Regions from separate parts of the Homo sapiens genome. Here region 1 is linked to region 2. Evidence: promoter capture Hi-C in 16 types of primary human blood cells and fetal thymus (Javierre and others, 2016). All regions are on one chromosome and are shown on one strand. Each heading gives the region's core, a stretch centred on a gene start or on the middle of the fragment in contact. The rest is flanking DNA. Distances are from core to core; before and after follow the strand shown. Region 1 overlaps SH3GL3 (SH3 domain containing GRB2 like 3, endophilin A3). Region 2 holds the start of BNC1 (basonuclin zinc finger protein 1).

Evidence for each region. The method cuts DNA at HindIII sites, captures the fragments that hold promoters and counts their contacts. A CHiCAGO score of 5 or more calls a contact.
Region 1: a contact is called between a fragment that was not itself captured here and the fragment with the promoter of BNC1 in region 2, in 1 of 17 cell types (M2 macrophages). The highest score is 5.7, in M2 macrophages.

The regions. Positions count from the first base shown.
Region 1 is chr15:83,550,098-83,555,868 of GRCh38, forward strand. The region is part of intron 1 of SH3GL3 (SH3 domain containing GRB2 like 3, endophilin A3); the gene reads left to right. Among named protein-coding and RNA genes, the nearest start is that of ADAMTSL3, 100 kb to the right of the region's middle. The HindIII fragment of the contact is 4,363 bases long and covers 1,629-5,771 here.
Region 2 is chr15:83,281,090-83,286,738 of GRCh38, forward strand. It overlaps BNC1 (basonuclin zinc finger protein 1), which reads right to left and starts at 3,575. Exons shown (of 5, transcript NM_001717.4): 1 at 3,441-3,575. The coding sequence starts at 3,539. It overlaps BNC1-AS1 (BNC1 antisense RNA 1), which reads left to right and starts at 2,923. Exons shown (of 3, transcript XR_932542.3): 1 at 2,923-3,005. RefSeq lists enhancers at 2,966-3,466, 4,236-4,736. The HindIII fragment of the contact is 5,658 bases long and covers 2,745-5,649 here.

The DNA.
Region 1 (5,771 bases), core at 2,560-5,059, 270 kb after region 2:
TCCCTAATGTTAACAACTTACATATTACCTTTACTATTGATACTTAAAATTGTGTTGCCATGTTCTCCAAGCTGATAACAACAGAGCATGACTGCCAACTGGTTGAAAGGAGAAAAAGGAACCTTTCAAAAGGGTGACATTTTTGGCACAGGGCTTCTCAAAATGTGTTCCTTAGAACACCAGTCCTTGGAGATTTTCCTATTAGACAACGTCCACAGCCCAGTAATTGTAGGAAATGCCACATCTTACATATATGTGCCCCTTTGGAAATCCACAGTGCCCATTACCATTTTATTTTATTTATTTTTTTTGAGATGGAGTCTTGCTCTGTCACCCAGGCTGGAGTGCAGTGGTGTGATTTCAACTCACCGCACCTCCACCTCCTGGGTTCAAGTGATTCTTGTGCCTCAGCCTCCCGAGTAGCTGGGATTACAGGTGTGCACCACCATGCCTGGCTAATTTTTGTATTTTTACTAGAGATGGGGTTTCACCATGTTGGCCAGGCTGGTCTCAAACTCCTGACCTCAAGTGATCTGCCTGCTGTGGCCTTCCAAAGTGCTGAGATTACAGACATGAGCCACTGTGCCCGGCCCTCCATTACCATTTTAAAGCCTCTGAAAATGTTTCAGTAAAGAAATCTGCTTAATTTTGTTTTCCCTGTGTTTCCAAATATATATAGTCAAGAGCTGTTTTTGTTTTTGTTTGTTTGTTTGTTTTACTTTGCCTGGCCCTTAGGTACATCCCATGGAGCTAGTGTTTTGTGGCACACATACTGGAAAATACTATTCTGGAGCATTTTCTAAAATCCTAAGTTACAAATTTTGCTTTTTTACATTTTCTCTTAGGTTCCGGCTTTCTTGCTGTTTAATTTCTTGCTTCATGAAAGGGAAGAAGATGGAGACGCCAAGGTTTCTTTGAAAACAGATATTTGCACGAGAAGGCAGCCAAGGCTGTGTTAACATTCACCATTAAAAACCCAACACATCTAGACAAAACACCAAATGCAAAAGCTTCACGTTTCCCAAATAAATTTCTTTTATAATTTGTCACTGCTCGGTTGTAGGCTTTGAAAATAGTTTTCATTTTCCTGTTATTGACAAAATTAAAGCTGCCAAGAAGTAGATGGTGAACAAGGATTTTATCTCTGACTGTAGCACCAAGGCAACCTGAGATAGGTCTAATTTGCAGCATAAATCTTCTTTTCCACTGGGGGAAGAACACACGAGCCACATTGAGTAGCCACCCATTTGTATTTTTGATTTGCAACTTCTGTCTAGTGAGCCAAGGTCAGGTGCGATATTTGTGATGGGGAAGCTGAATAGGTGAGTGAGGGTAGCTTGTGTTTGAAGCTGAAGAAGGTAATTAAGAGGGTTTTAGAATGTAATTTTGGCATTTTTCCCCACTCCACCTCTTCAAACTATGTGTCCCCTGTCATCGCCTAACCGATCTGCCTGTCCACCTTCTGGTTCCTCTCCAGTCCATTATCTCATGGCCCACTTGACTAATCTTTCTGAAACTCAGATCTGTTCTTATCACTCACCTTTCTAAAAGTCTCCATTGTCCCCAGAATTAAGTTTAGCCCCATGGTCTGGCCCCTGAGTGTATGCCTGTCTGCTCCTTTTCATTTAAGCTTCTGTTACCCTTGCTGAATTATTATGCTGTTTCCTGTTATGTTGTGTGCATCTCTTAGAAGCTGCATATAGCTGGATTTTTTAAAATCCACTCTAGTATTATTTAGTATGTTGAATGTAATCCAATTGTGTAGATAATCATTACTGATCTATTTGGACTCTCTATTTTTTAATCAGCCATTTCTTTGCTTATACTATTCTTTCTGACAGAAATGCCACTTTTCTTCTTATCTCCCTGGTGAACTCCATATATCCTACTAGGCTTTGTTCTGGAACTTTCTTGGCACCTTCTCATTTATATAATTGCTTCCTTCCATCTGGGTTTTAATGGCAAGTTCTGCATCTCTATTACAGAATAGTATTGATCTCATTGTGGATTGCTGTTTGTGTTTCTGCTTTCCAGTGGGCCTGTGAGAGTGACTGATCTTTGCATCTCTAGCAAATTGGCACAGTTGGTAGACTTTCCAACCTGAGATATTAGATGTTTCAGAAATTAGATTGAATGACGTGGTGTCAGTTTGAAACATTAAATTGAGGTGTTCTTTGAAATGTATTTAAGGTTATACAATGATTTTTGAATACAGCTTTAGCTGCATACCACAGATTTTGATGTATAATATTTTTATTGTTGTTAAATTTTTTGGTAATTTCTATTGGGGTTTTCTTTTTAATCTGTTATTTAGGACAGAATTTTAAAATTTTGTGCTGATATACTTATTTTTATTGTTGGTTCCTAACTTAATTGCATTATGGTTAAAAAACCCCAAAACCTAATAAACATGCTCTATATGGTATTGATTGACTTTGTTACGTAGTATTAGGTTGGTGCAAAAGTAATTGTGGTTTTTGCCACTACTTATAATATTTTGCAGCAACATAATATATGGTCAGTTTTTGTAATGTTCTATCTGTACTTGCAAGGAATATACATTTTTTAAATTTATTGGCTGGGGGATATAGGTATATGTGCATAATAGTTGACCAAGGTTATTATTTTGGTCATTCAGATAATCAATATCTTTTTCAATTTTTTATCATGTTTGATATGTCAGTTTTCTGATGGAGTTGTGTTAAATCTCCTGCTGTAATTGTGGGTTTATCAGTTTCACTATTTCAGTTTTGCTTTATATTTTTTGGAGGTTATACTAATAGTGGAAACAATATCATTATTATAAAAATTTTGGTGGATTGCTCCTTTTATTATTACATTGAGTCTCTATTCCTATTAATGCTTTGCCTTAGGAAGGTATTTCTTAGGTCAGGCACAGTGGCTCATATCTGAAATCCCAGCACTTTAGGAGGTGGAGGCAGGAGGATCGCTTGAACCTTGGAGCTCAAGACCAGCCTGGGCAACATAGAGAAACCCCATCTCTACAAAAATACAAAAATGAGCCAGGCATGATGCTGTGCACCTGTGGTCTCAGCTACTCCTGAGATCACACCACTGTACTCCAGCCTGGGCAACAAAGCGAGACCCTGTCTCAAAAAAACAAAAAACAAAGACAGGTAGCTCTTGTCTGATATTACTGCTGCAGGCTTTATTTTGATTAGCATTTTCCTAGTATGTACATTTTGTCTTTTCAGTCTTTCTATGTGTTGTGTTTTAGTTGTGACTCTTAGAAGATGTATATAGCTAGATTGTTAAAATTCACTCTATTATTATTTAGTATGTTGAATTTAATCCAATTATATAGATGATCATTACTGATCTATTTAGACTTATTACTATCTGATTTTGTGGTTTCTGTTTGCCATTCCTTCTTCCTCCCTCTCCCTTTATTCTCCCTTGTTTTCTTTTGGATTGAAAAATACTGGTTTTCTAACAGTGTGCTGGTATGGATACTATGTTATAACATGCATAGTTCTATATGGGTATCATAGTTTTGTGTTTTTAGGAGTTACCATTAGTTATATAACACAGATACCTGCTGTGCATTATTGTAATGATGTCTAAAGTTATACCCATTTCTCACCTCCTCCTGAACACACATGAATCTTAGTGTGCTTGAAATATCCACTCAACACCCTTCCCCATTTCTGTGTTATTATTGCTGAAGGTTTTAATTTTGCCCTTGTGTAAACTCAGACACATTGGTTTTTGCTTGTTTGTTTGCCTTTACTCAATGGTAAATTTACCACCATAGTTTCTCAATTTTTATTCTCACCGTTGTTTCCTATGGTCCATACTTTCCCTCTTGGTTCGGTTTTTATTTCCTTGATGTAATACTTTAGCATCACTGTTATTTGAGTCTGTGAAGTCTGAATATGTCTTTATTTTCTTTCTCTCGCTCTTTTTTTTTTTTTTTTTTGAGACAGAGTCTCACTTTGTCACTCAGGCTGGAGTGCGGTGGTGTGATCTCAGCTCATTGCAACCTCTGCCTCCCGAGTTCAAGTGATTCTTCCATTCTCCCACCTCAGTCTTCTGAGTGGCTGAGATTATAGGCACGTGCCACCACATCCAGCTGATTTTTTTTTTGAGACGGAATTTCACTCTTATTGCCCAGACTGGAGTGCAATGGCGCGATCCCGGCTCACCGCAATGTCTACCTCCCGGGTTCAAGCGATTCTCCTGCCTCAGCCTCCTGAGTAGCTGGGATTACAGGCATGCGCCACCACACCCAGCTAATTTTGTGTTTTTAGTAGAGACGGGGTTTCTCCATGTTGGACAGGCTGGTCTCAAACTCCTGACCTCATGTGATCCACCACTTCGGCCTCCCAAACTGTTGGGATTACAGGCATGAGCCACTGCACCCAGCCTTGCTCTTAAACAACAGTTTAGGGAGACAGAAAATTCTAGATTTTTATTGCGCCACCACACCCGGCTAATTTTTGTATTTTTAGTAGAGACAGGGTTTCACCATGTTGGCCAGGCTGGTTTTGAACACCTGACCTCAGGTGATCCACCCGCCTCAACCTCCCAAAGTGCTGGGATTACAGGCATGATCTGTAATCCCGTGCCTAGCCGATTTCTTCTTAACACTTTGATGCCATTCCTTCATTGTCCCTGGCATCTGCTGTTGCAGAAGAGAAATCTGCTGTCAATCTTATTGTTGCTTTGGATGTTTTTTCCCCTGCGATAGTTTTAGGATTGTTTATTTTTGAGGTTTTGCTGCGTCTGGGTGTGAATTAATATTCATCTTGCATGGTACTTGAGTGTGCTTCCAAACTGTAGACTCCTATTTTCCTTCAATTACAGAAGATAAAAGAGCCATTTTACTTGTAAATATTGATTCTCCTATATTCTGTTGTTTTTTTCTGGAGTGCCTGTTGGATATATCTTGGAATCTCTCACTTATCCTTCATATCTATTAACTGATATTTCCTTAAAAAAACTCTTCATCTCTGTTTATTTTATGTTCTTTAAGTTCCTTAATATTTTCCAGCTTACCAGTTCTTTCCTGATTGCGCCCAGGCTGGAGTTTGTCCCATCTATTGGGTTTTTCATTTTTATGACTATATAATACTTTTTGTTTCTAATGTTTTATGTCTATCTTGAAAATTTCTTCCCTTTTGTATAATTGTTTGCTCTTCATTAATAGAAGTTATTCCTTTATCTATCATTTTAATAATATCCTAAACACACATTAAAAAGTCTATATTGTTTCATAAAACCGTTTTCTCTAGAAGTGAATTCATGTTATGTTATGTGATTTTGTCGGCTCTCTTTCTTGGTGTTATATTTTATTCATGTGCCTTGGAATTTAGATCTAGGATGAATTTTAATTCCAACTTCTTGTGCTCACTTCTCTCTAGTGATTGTGGCTTCTTCCACCCAGCTTCCCAAGGCCCCAGTACAAAACCGTGGTTTCTGTTCTGTGGTGATATTGGGGCTATCTGGATCCAGTCACAGAGCTGGAGGGGGTGGGGATGTGACTTGACTGATTCTTTGTTCTTCAGTCTCCTTGGGCCTGCAGATTGCCACATGTGGTAGCATCAGACAGGGGTTTACATCTGAATTTTTTTTCCCAGCCTCATTTGCTTTTCCATCCCCAGCTGTAAGCAGAACTTGAACCCAGACTCTGGTCTCATGGAGCACTTTTAGATCCTTTTGTACTCAGCAGGAACCAGACTGCTGGCTGTCATAGCCTGTGTGCAGGCAAGAAGCCCAGCAGGCCCGAGGCTTCAACCTTGTTCATCATG
Region 2 (5,649 bases), core at 2,325-4,824:
GGAGAAACAAGTCTGTTCTCTGTTTATACCCACCCTCTTCGGCTGAAATAGGCATGTGTCCGTGCAGAGAAATGGTGCCACAGTGGAAGCTTGGAATTTCCAGAATTAGGAAAAGGACTTCAAAGAATGACAAGATATGCAGAAATAAGGTTTTCAGGTGGAAACCAGTTTAAAAGGAAAAAGAAATGCTTTCCAGATGCTTCTTTTGAGCAGAATCCAGTTATCTTTAACATCTCTCAGAGAAGTCATCAAAAATAAAGAAACAAAAACTCTGCAGTAGAACACTTGGAATTACGTAATTAAAAGAAAAGTACCAACTCCCTAAAATCTTGATTTTAGATACTAAAAAGATGGGTGGCTCATCATTGAGATTTTACCTTAGCTAAGGTATTTTCAGTTCCTTCTAAAAAGGACAGTTTCTGACAAAAGTAACCCACTCTAAATGACATCTGTAGAGGAGAAAATTCACCCTGGGGTGAAGCACACTCCTGTAAGTAATTTACCCTGTGGAACCTTCAGGGCATCCCTTTTAATGGCCACATCAAAATTACTTCTAAAGCCACATACAGAAGCTAAAAGACACTTCTGCCCCCCACTCCATAAGCTGCAGTTTAATTTTACTGACAAATTGAACTTTTAAAATGTTTCCCTGTTTATACTTATCCCTAGGCATTCATAAATGACAAATGTGTGCTTAGGGACAACTACTTTGTTCCACAGGGAAACCTGTATGGCTTTTCTCTCTCATCTATCGGGTTGGATCGTCTTTCCAATCTGATGATCTTGAGGTACAGAAAGTGGGCATGGGCCTGGGATGCAGGCCTAACTGCTACATGGGGGAGATGCAATAAAACATAAAATAGCCCTCCAGTAAATCTCATGCTTCCAAGGCAATTACTTCATGTTAGTCAATATTTCTAATGAGAATTATAACCACAGCAAACAGATCACTGTAGGTATCAATGGCCAAAGAACTTTAACCACTTTCTGAAGGAGGAGAATGTCCCTAAATCCTTACTAGTCTGAAGGGACACTATAGGTACAGATGATATTCAAATTAAATTATGCAGATGCCTGAACATAATTACGAGTTCCCAAAGTGTGAGCATCATGTGTGCTAGGTGAAGATTTCACCACCTCTTCTCAGCATTTAACTACAACAGGAACACGTTCAACCAACAGTTGACTTGAAATAGTAATAGTTTCTTGGTGAAATTAGTTAGCAAACTTATTAGATGAGAAATCAAACGATGACTCGTATCTTATTCGTTTTAACCATCTGAAAGTATGCCAAAAAGAATAAAGTTATTTCTTAAAATTCATCATCACAAAAGGAGAAGCCATCTTTTCACACCTCTTTAAAGAGCAAATCAAATCCAGTACAATTTGTAACATCTGAAGTAATGTTCTTTTATATGATGTACAAAATTTTATTTTGACAAACTATTTTAACAAGGTTTTAATATGTATCAACGAATCTGGGAAGGGATCAATGAAAAGAGAGTCAGTGTATCCATCACTGAACAAAAGTTTCAATACATTAACACGTATTTGCAAACTCAGGGTCGAAGACTTAGAATCTTATCAAGAGATCCCATAAAATCGAATAGCAAATTAAATAAACAGCGAATGAAAAAAAATCTGCCAAATGCTGTTTTTCAATTCACTTACTGTCAAGCCAAAATCTTGTCGCTTTGATGAAAAGAATATATTTTTAAAAAAATTGTTGCTACATCTGCTCTGTGGTCCTATGCAGTAACACATGTTCTCTCTCCCTCACACACACACTCTCTCTCTCCCTGACAGGGATTCCCAGGACACCGGTGGGGCCTCTTTTAGGCCCCTTAAGTGTTAACAGCAAGAGGCCTGGCTGAGACCAGGCGTCTGGGCCGCTTTAAATGCCCTGGCCTTCAGAGGACTGAGGCGAGCACAGCCATAAAACCAGGGGACGTTACCGAACCCCCGAGCGTCTGATGCCCCCCGCCCCCCAACCACACACAACTTCACTCACACAATTAAGGCTGGGAGATGGCATTCCACTTAACTGTCAGACTCGGAGCGGTGGCAGCCCCGCAGCCACAAAGAGATGCCTTAAATGAGAAGAACATGTTTCTACACCGCATTTGTGAAAGTTTGGCTCGGAGCTACGCGCTGATTAATATCAGATCTCCTTCACTCGCCTCGCCACAATCTTGTCACATCTGGCTGACAAATCCCGAGGAACTCCGGCAAAGCCAGGCGGCGGCGGGGCTCCGGGTCTGGGCGGCGGCTCCGGAGGAGCAGCGGGAGACCCCGCAGCGGCCTCCTCCTTCTCCGCCCGCGGCCCCCAGCCTCGCCGCCGCCGCCCGGCTCCCAGCACGGAACCGACGGGGCGCTCCCGAGACGGGCGAGCCACGCGCTCGCAGGTCCCAAGGCCAGGCTGGGCGGGACTGTTAAGGGAGCTCGAAGTCGGGGGCCGGGGGCTTCCCGTCCCGGCGCTTCCCATGCAAACCCCTGAAGGAAGCGGCAGGCGCAGCCGCGGGCTCCGCAGCCCAGGCCCACTTCCTGTCACTCCAGGAAAACCTCGGAGCGGCGGACGCGGCTCGGCCCGGCTTCCAGCCCAGAGCCCAAGCGCCTTAGCCCCGTCCCAGCGCTTTCTGAAAGACGGGCCACCTCGCGCGGAGCCGCGACAAGGACTCCAGGGTCCGCAGTGAAGCTGGTCAAATCTGCCCCGCACACGGTCAACGCTCGGTCTGTGTCCCGGAAGCTTTCGGACCGGACCTGTCTAAATAGCGACTTTCAGTCGTGGGTTTTTTGTTCTTGTGGGTTTGTTTTGTTTTTTGTTGTTGTTGTTGCTCTACAAAAGATTTGTCCCGCAGTGGACGGGAGCCTCCTCACGGCCGCCCGCCCGTCTCCGCAGTTCTCCTCAGTGACCGGAGGCTGCCGCGCGCCCCGTTCTCCAGAGAAACAATCCCCGGAGAGAAAGACGGCCAGTGTGAAATATCAGCTGTTTCACAAATTCTGAGGTAAAAGAAAAAAAAAAAAAGAAGGGGTCGACCCCCACAGGTGGAAACAGCAAGTCCTAACGTCCTGGGCTGAAGCCTGGGGTGCGGGCGGCAGAGAGTGGCGTGTAGGGTACCCGCCGAGTGCCGCCGCCGATTTCCACAGGCTGGCCCGCCGGCACCTCCGACGCGCCCGCAGATCCGGCGCGGAGACCGTTTGCCAGCTCCGGGACGTCGGGCAGGGACGGGTCCCAGAGCCCCAACCCCCCCGCCGCCGCCTCCCGGCCGGAGACCACGGTCCCTCCCGCCGCGCCTCGGGGCCGCGCTGCCGCGCAGGTAGCCAGCTGGCCCTCGGGAGGTGGCCCTCGGGTACCCACGGGAGCCGGAGCCCAGCGGCGTCCCGGGCCGCCTGCTCCGCGCACAGAGAATCCCCGCGCCCGCGGAGGGCGCCGCGCTTACCTCGGCCATCCTGCGACCGCTGCGGTGCCGGGGCTGCCGGCGCGTCTCCCGGGCCCGGGCCGCCCCGCGTCCGCCCCGGCTCGGCGGGCGCCGCCGCATCCACGCTCCGGCCGTCGGGGCGCGACCCGGCGAAGTGGGCGGCTCCCCAAGCGCCCAGGCTGCGCAGCACGATGGCCGCCCCCGCCGCGCACCGCGTGTGCCCGCACGCCCGCCCCCTGCGCCCCGGGGACGCCTCTCCGCCCCTCCCCCTGCCCCTCCGCCCACCGCGCGGTCGCCCCACGCCGCGGGCGCTGCTTCGCCGCCCGGGAGGCCGCCTCCCGCCCCGGGACCGGATAACGCCCTAAATCAGCGCAGCTGAGGCGAGGCCGTGGCCCCCGCAGACCGCGGAGACCTCGCCGGCGGCCGGCGCGGAGGTGTCTGCCCCCGCCGGGCTTGAAGGCACTTGTTGGTAAAAGACACAGACGTGTCGGTGTTTGCCTCTCCCGGGGAAGGGCGAAACGCTCTGAAGTTCTCTGGCGCTCTTCTCAGGAGATGATTCGGCCTCCCCTCCTACCCTGGGGCGCCCTCGGGGTCTCACTGCCGCGGAGGAAGAAGGCAGCGCCGCCCTCGCCTGCAGAAACCTCATTCCCGAGAAAGTGCGGGACGAGCGTCTTGGGATGTGGAAGAAGGGGGTCGCCAGGAGGTTTTCTTAAGAACTCAAAACAAGCGCCCCCCACCGCACACGCACACACACACACACACACACACACACCCCTTCCCTTGGGTGGTCTGAAGAGTCAAAGTCCCAGCTTGACCACTTTCCCAGGACAAATGGCTTTGCTCTCTGGGCCTCAGTGGCTTCAGTTGTAAAATGGGATTAAGTTTTTCGCGTCTTATTGGATGCTAGGGACGGAATGAAATGAAGTGCCCTGGAGAAGCCAACTGGAGGTGGTGGCCCCGAGAGTAGACGCGGAGGGGCTGAGGCCGCAGGATCCTGGAGCCCAGGAGCTGACGGAGATCGCCCACAGCTGCTGCAGCAGCGCCCGGGTTTCTGCTGCCCCGGGGCAGGGCAAGCCTCTCCCAACCTCTTCAGCTCCTTAAAAGGAGTCTGTAAAGGCTAGACTGGGGGGGCGGCGGGGGTCCTGCTTCCTCTTCCCTCAGTTTCTTCCACCTGCCTTGCTGCTGGTGGGGATCCTTGAAAAGGAAACAAAGCTCTTCCTTCCCTCTCTGAGAGGAAAAGGAAGATGAAGTGAGTTGCCCTCAGCCACCCAGAGTGTGCCTGGTTGTGGCTATGGAAGGCACAGGCAGGTGGAAGGCTTCTGAAGGGAAGAGAAGGGAAAGGAGGGAACAAGGTGTACGAGGAAGAATGTGTGGGTGTCTGGGCGTCCTGGCGTCCTGGGGTCCAGCGGGTCCTTCTGCCTCTCCTGGGGTGGACACACAGGTGAGTGTCCTGGGCCTGATGTGTGGCGCCTTTCCTTGTAGGCTTGAAGTCTCCTGGCCTCACGTGATGGACCTTGCCGTGGGAGGAGATTCTTTTTTTTTTTTTTCACGTGGCTAACTTCTTGATGTAGCTTTGCTAGATTCATTCCGCATCTAAACTGCTTACCTCTCATTCCTCCGTGCCCCCGTATTGAGGCCTTTCTTCTAACACCTCCTTCTCTGTTTGTTGTAACACAGTGCATCTTTGAAGGACTTTCTGGAATGTCACCACATCTCAGAAACCTTCCCTGATCCACCAAGCCTCCACTCGATGTGCTTTTGCCCTGTTGTGACCCCCAGGCACTTTTTTCTGCCTCTTTCATCGTGCCAGTAGCATTGTGTAGCCTAGTTGTGATGTGTGCTTGTCTTAATTCCTTTGGTGGTTACTCATCTTAGTGGCTTCTGTGCTATGAGATACGGTAGCAGATAAACCTCTGGTTTTGCAGTCATAGTGACCCAGGGATAGCTCATTCCTAGCAACTGGAAACTGGCTGAGGAAGTCAGCCTTCTTGGCCCCTCTTTTCTTCTCTATAAAAGCAGATATGAAAGCCTGTCTCAGGCCAGATTGGTAGGACTAAATAAAATAGTCTCTGTTCTGCAAACCCTCTCCCCCTTTCCTTTCTGCTGCATCTAAAACCAATTTCTGGATTAACTTAAATTTGTTACCTACAATAATATTGTAACCAAGAGAGATCCTTGATGACAATATTACTGAATGCCACCTATGCCTATTATAAATACACCACAATGT